Linked DNA regions of Homo sapiens: region 2 is linked to region 1. The links are contacts of gene promoters, found by promoter capture Hi-C in blood cells and fetal thymus (Javierre and others, 2016). All regions are on one chromosome and are shown on one strand. Each heading gives the region's core, a stretch centred on a gene start or on the middle of the fragment in contact. The rest is flanking DNA. Distances are from core to core; before and after follow the strand shown. Region 1 holds the start of TMEM132A (transmembrane protein 132A). Region 2 holds the start of FADS1 (fatty acid desaturase 1).

Region 1 (3,165 bases), core at 304-2,803:
TTCCCCATCAGCCAAAGCAAAAGATGGCTGCTGCTTTGTAGGCATGTGCCTGCAAGTGGGACCTTGCTGGGCATTATATGCCCTGTGGGGGTTTCAGAGACCCTGAAAGAGGAGGGAGGACCCGCCTCCTTGTCTGCACAACTGCATGCACTTCTCTCCCCATCGCTCCACAACCTGAAACCGAGAAGGAGTTGCTGACCAGTGCCCACCCCGGCAGCCCGGGAGGAACACAGGCAGCTCCTTTCCCTTCACGTGGTCTGCAGAGAGCAGGGTGAGCTGCCAGCTGCCCCTCTCCACCAGGGTACCCTGTCTTGGTGGTTAGGGGCCACTTTTCCTTTGAGGCTCTAGTGGAGGTGGATGTCCTTCTCTGCCAGGCTTGGCACATGATGTGAAGAATAAATGCCCAATTCTTACTGTTCAGGTTTGATGTGGAATCACAGCTGCAGTGATATATATTTTTTATCAGTGCTTGGTTGGTTTTAAATAAAGTGCACGCTATTTTATTATCTTGTTCTGAATAAAATGTATTTACTCCAAGTCTGGATTGCTTCCATGTCTCCTCTACTGCTAAACCCATTTCTGTAGTGCAGCTCCGCCTCCCAATTTCTCCCTGTGGGGGCAGTGTGAAGCTGGCAGAGGGGAGAGCTGAAAAGGCAGGCTGGTACCAGGTACCCTTCCCTCCAGGAGCACAAGGAATTAGGAAAGCATGCCCCCATTACAAAACGTAGGAACGACTGGCACTGCTGGAAATGCGTGTGCTTGCTGGGCAGAGGGGTCACCCCTTCCCTGCAGTGTGCTGAGGTGGGTGGGCAGCCTGGAGAAGACTTGCCTGCCCTCCCCTTCACCACCCACCTGAGGACTTTCCTGTGCCAAGGTTTCCAGTCGGCCCACAGGCTGGACCAATTTTGCGGAGGGCCTCAGACATAATTTTTTCTTTGTAAGCTGCCCAGGGCATGAGAGTGTGCAGCTGGGGCCCCTGCTCTGGGCCTCTCCCCAAACTGCCTGGTAGGCAACACTGGGTCAGGACCCTTGAGGCTGGCCTTCCCTCGGGAGTGTTGGGCAACCCTCAACCCTCCTAAGCGCTGCAGGACGCTGCCCAGGTGGAGCTGGTCAAGAGACTAGAGCTGCCTGCACCTAGAGCCCTTCCTCCACGGCGGTGGCCTAGCTCTGTCAGGGCAGGCTCAGGTGGTTGGCATCTGGCCCCGTTTGACCCCCTCCCTCCTTTCCTGTCCCTGCAGCTCCCGTCCCATGTGTCCCTGAATTCTGGTTCTGACTCAGGTGTCAGATGCCTTCACAAGTGAGCTGCTTGTGGGGGTGGGTGAGGCAGAGAAAGTGGCTTTTTCTTCCCTGATCAGAAGCTTCCGTGAGGGAGCCACACAGAACTCACCGAGTCCCTCCTGGCAGAGGCGGCCGTCCTCTGTTGCTTCCAGGGACGTGGCCCTCTTCCCGACCTCGGTCGCCTGAGCGCGCAGGGATTGGGGATCCGTAGGGCACTAGGACCCGGCGGGGCGGAGGGGGCAGCCCATGTGCTGCGATTCGCTCCCTCCCACCCCACTGCTCCCGCTCCATTGTCTGGGAATTGCAGCCGCGGGGCGGGCGGCGGCGGCGGCGGCGGCGGCCGGGACCCAGCGGGCCAGGTGGGGACGGCGCGGAGCGGGTGCGGGAGATGCCGTGCGGGACTGGGGCCACCTGAGCCGCCCGCCTCGTCCCCGCCTTCTGTGGGAAGGATGTGCGCGCGGATGGCCGGTCGCACAACAGCGGCCCCTCGGGGGCCCTACGGCCCCTGGCTCTGCCTCCTGGTGGCCCTCGCCCTGGACGTCGTGAGAGGTCAGCGGGAGGGGAGGGCCGGGGCGAGGGGCGGCCGGGCCCGGCCGAGTGGGAGCGAGTGATGCCCGGGAGCCACCAACCTTTGGGTTCTCGGACTGAACCCTGAGCGGGGTCGCCCCGCAGCGCCCTGAAGGTCGGAGAGTTCTTGCCCTCGGGAACCTGCCCCCAGCCACTCGCCCCTAAGGCTTCCTTCACCTTGCACGACCCGGCAACTCCTTCCTGACCCGGGGCAGCCCGGCGCAGGGGCTTCCCCGTCCCGCACCTTCTGCGAGGGACCCCTCAGCCCGGGCATCGAACCCGGCGGCCCCGGTCCCGGGCGCACTAGCGTCATCCCCACTCCCTCACTGTGGTCTGTAGCGCTGCACCCTCCTAGCCTCCTTCCGCCGCCACCAACCCACCCCCCTCGGGAGTGGAAAGCAGCCCCTTTGCCTGGGACCTGCAACAGACGCAAGCCCTCCCTCCCCCTTCCCCCAGGGCTCCCTGACCTTGGCGTCTCCAGGGATGGCCGCATCCTTGCCTTCCAGAACCTTTGAGAGGATTCCTGTCACTGCGGGAAAGGGCAGCAACTTCCCTGTGCTTCGGGGTGGGGGTCGGACTCCCTTGGCCTGGGCTAGCTGGGCTGTGGCTGCAAGGCAAAGGATGCCACAGAAGACAGAGGGACAGTGAAACATTCTCTGCCCTCCCCACCGAGAGAGCCGAGCGCTGGGTGATGGGAGTCCGTGGGAGTCAGGCTAAGAGCATCTTGTAATTATGGAGGCAATGGAGTAGGAGGCGAACCTGAAGCCAGTGGCTGCCCCCAGAGAGCAGTGGTCACTTGTTACGCTTGGGGCAGGGGGCAGGGAGAGCCTGTCAGTCATATGCTCCTTGGTGGGGAGGGCCAGGAAGGAGGTTGAAACCAATTCCCCCACCCCCACCCACAGTCCAGCTGTGGGGCTGAGAGGGAGCTAGCTGTGGGGTTGCTTTCAGCCACCTGCTCCCCATCCCGAGGGACGCCATGGGAGTCCTAATAGAGAGAGGAGGAAAACCTTGTCAAATCCATTATGCAGCAGCAATAATGCCTGCTCCCTCCAGACAGCACTCCACAGTTTACACAGCCCTGTCCTGTCCACAGTGCCACCTAATGCTCCTGCCCCTTTTACAAGTGAGGAAACAGGCTTCAAAATGTTAATGCCTGACCCAAGTTTCATCAATTTAAATTCAGGTCTCCAGGCTCCCAGGAAATCCTCTCTAGGGAGCGCTTCCTAGTTTGGGGGAATTCCAGGATGAGCAAGACAGGGTCCCTTGTTTATAGGAAGATTACTAATTCAGAGGAGGCACCCAGGGTTGCAAAAGACAGGA
Region 2 (3,068 bases), core at 250-2,749, 890 kb after region 1:
GACAGTGGAGGGCATCACGCTGCAGGGCACGGGATCAGAGGGGGATGCAAGGGGAGGGGACGCCATTCTGGCCGCCAAGGGGGAAACGCGGTGAAGGGAACGCCCCGACTTTCGAGTCCCTAGGACTGAGTCCCCAGGACTCCAACCCAGCAGAGAGGCGCCGGGGCCTTAGCTCTGAGGGCTGTGGTCTAGAAAGGGAAGCAGCAGGCCTGGGGCTGGGGCGCGCGCCGACCCCGCAGTGAGACCAAGGGAAGAAGGGACAGGACCCCGCGAAGGGCCTACCGCCCCAGAGCGTAAACAGCGGTCCGCTCCGCGGAATAGCTGAAGACCTCGCTGGCCTGCGGCTCAGTGGCCTCCCCGGCGATTCGAGAACAGCTCTGGGGGTCCTCGCTAAGTGTATGCCATTCCCAATCCCTTATGTACGCCAGCGGCCGCTTGCCCTCCCCGGCCAGCGCTGTCCCTTCCGCGTCCTCCAGTCTTCACACGACGCAGGGGTCCCCAAGGCAGCGGTCTCCCCAAGCTTCCCGTTTCAGCCCCATCCTCGAGAATGGGCTCCTTTCCTGCTCCCTCTCCGCTCCTGCTGGCGAGTGGAGACCGGCACCTAGGTCCAGACGCGGCTGCGCTGCCTCTCCTAGCCATCGAGACAGGATGTGACTCCCTCCCCTGGCCACTGACCCCCTCCCTCCCCAGGCGGCCTGCATCCTTGCTCTCCTCCCTCCTAGCCTACCCAGCTCGGGGTTCTGTCCCCGCCCAGAGACCTGAGGCTCGGGGCTGCAGATGGAATGCACGGCAGGGAGGCGGGACCCTTTGTTTGTGTGTGCGTGTTGTTGGCCTCCATCCCCACTCCCCAGACTCCACTTCTCCAGGCCTCTCTCCCGCCTTTTCATCCCGCATCCGCAGGACACCCAATCACCGGGCAACAGGTATGATCAGGCGCCTCCGGGCTTTCCTCCGAATTAGTCGGTGTTTGGCTCGGAGTGCGTAACTCTGTCTCCCCTGCACTCAGCCTCCGGTCCCGCCCTCTCCTGTGCCCCCGCCTGGCTGCGCTCACCGTGGCATCCTGCCCGGCGTAGTGGCTGATGACCCGGGAGCCCCCTGGATGCCGGCGGGTGAACTCGCTGATGTTGTACACCTTACGGTCGATCACTAGCCACCGCTCCTCGCACCCTGAGCGCTGGGCCACCTCGTCCCAGGTGAAGTAGCGCGGGGTAGGTCCCTGAGCCGCGGTCTCGGCGGCCACCGGGTCGGGGGCCATAGCTGGCCTGGCGACGCCGCGCGCCGGGCCAGCAGGGGCTGTCAGGCGCGTGCTCGGGGTCCGCGGGCTCCAGGAGTGGATTTGCTGGCGCGCGCCCAGAGCCAGCCGCCTGCGCGCCGGGTTTTCAGCACCGCAGGGCAGACCGGCGGGCCTCGCAGCGCGCGTTCCCATTGGCCGAGCCTCGTGGCGCGGGGAGCGAGATCCCGTCCCCCGGTGGGTCTTGGGCAACTCACAGCTGGGCTGCCAACACGCGCCCCCTCGCGGGCTCCCTAAAGGCGTCGCCGCCGGATTCGACTTCCTGACGTCAGGCGGGCATCGCGGCGTTGGCTCCCAGGGGGCGCCGCGGTAGGAACAGCGGTTCTAGTGCAGGCCCTGGGTGCGGGGCCGCGCTGCAGGAGTGAATGGACTGAGGGGCCAGGGCTGCGGGGTGGCCGCAGGAAGGGTGGGCGGGGCCGGGGTTGAGGTTTTTCCGTGCACGAGGCTGCCCGGGCGGTCGCGGACATCATCTTTAGGCTGTGGATGCCTTGGCCGGGGTCTCCAGACGCTGACCCTCCAGGGTTGGAAACTACTGCCTGCTTGCCACGTCGTGCCGCCAATTGTGCTGCCCGAAGTAGCAGCCTGAGAGCCCTTGAAAGTTGCAGTTATCTTGTGAACAGCATATTTACGGTCTCTTGGGCTTGGTGGTGGTTGGGGGAGGGCTGTTAATGCTTTAATTTGTTCAATGAAACATTTAAAATGCCCCACAATTTTTATAACCCTGTTTGCCTCTTTTTGTTTTTATTTTTATTGTATTTTGGAAAAATTCACTGGGATCCTTGAGTGATGATCCTAGCGTCTCCTGACCCTTAGGTGTTTCACCTGAAAAGCCTGGGTCTTCAAGCTGAGGCATTTCTGTTCTAGCCTGGAGGCGCCTAGGAGCCCTGGGAGACTTTTTAAGCAGAGAGATTTGGCATTTAGATCTCTGGGTTTTAGAGGAGTGGGAACGCACCTAAAAGTGGGGTTGCCAGTTACAAAGCTGTTGCAGTCCTGAAGAGACCCAGAGTTTAGGTCCAAAATTTTATTTATTCAACAAACACTTTATAAAGCACTTACTGTGTGCCAGGCACTGTTCTTAGCGTTTTGCAAACCTTAACTCATTTAATTCTCCTAACAACCCTATGAGGTTGGAACAATTAACCTAATTTACAGTGAAGAAACTGAGCCCGGGGGAGGTTATTTTGTCACACAGCTTGTAAGTGGAGGGCTGAGATTTGACCCTGGCCTGTGCTCTGAACTCTCAGGCTCTGCCATATTTCTCATTACACTGGTATTTGGGCACTTCAAAGGGAAAGGAAACATAACTGTCCCAAGCACTGAGCTAGATTCTGAGCACGTAGGAGTCAGGAGAGGGTGATACAGAATAGACTAGGTGAAATATGGCTAGATTTCTGGTAGAAAAGGATTAATTCATTCCATCCAAATTCTTCATTTTATAGATAAGAAAATTGAGGTTCGAAATGGGGAAGGGGCTTACCAAGTTCCCATAGGGAAGTTTAGATGTCCTGACTTCCAGGTAAGATGCCAGGCTATTGGACCCTGCTCAGGAATGATGGTCCACACAGCTGCACCTCTGTACAGCCAATATTCCTTTTTTAAAAACCTTGCCCAACAACTTGGCAGTGTCTAATGCGAGCTACAAAACATTTTCTATTCTTTGATCAAGCAGTTTCACTCTTGGTAAAGTAGGGGAGACTGTGCAAAGATGCAGAAATAGCCAATTTAATAGCAAAAACTGGAAATAAACCCGAGTCCTGACAATAAGAAAATCGCCAAG

What was found. Contacts are between HindIII fragments. The CHiCAGO score rates a contact against its expected background, and 5 or more counts as called.
Region 2: a contact is called between the fragment with the promoter of FADS1 here and the fragment with the promoter of TMEM132A in region 1, in 1 of 17 cell types (neutrophils). The highest score is 5.2, in neutrophils.

The regions. Positions count from the first base shown.
Region 1 is chr11:60,922,907-60,926,071 of GRCh38, forward strand. TMEM132A (transmembrane protein 132A) reads left to right here and starts at 1,554. Exons shown (of 11, transcript NM_178031.3): 1 at 1,554-1,827. The coding sequence starts at 1,728. TMEM109 (transmembrane protein 109) reads left to right here. Exons shown (of 4, transcript NM_024092.3): 4 at 1-537. It overlaps LOC124902676 (a long non-coding RNA gene), which reads right to left and starts at 2,491. Exons shown (of 2, transcript XR_007062688.1): 1 at 2,313-2,491. RefSeq lists silencers at 1,450-1,809, 1,870-2,089, 2,130-2,199. The HindIII fragment of the contact is 2,439 bases long and covers 1,357-3,165 here.
Region 2 is chr11:61,815,504-61,818,571 of GRCh38, forward strand. FADS1 (fatty acid desaturase 1) reads right to left here and starts at 1,500. Exons shown (of 12, transcript NM_013402.7): 1 at 1,052-1,500. The coding sequence starts at 1,426. LOC124902680 (a long non-coding RNA gene) reads left to right here and starts at 2,517. Exons shown (of 2, transcript XR_007062696.1): 1 at 2,517-3,068. It also overlaps a transcript of FADS2 not described here. RefSeq lists an enhancer at 1-701 and silencers at 1,222-1,421, 1,762-1,861. The HindIII fragment of the contact is 2,548 bases long and covers 519-3,066 here.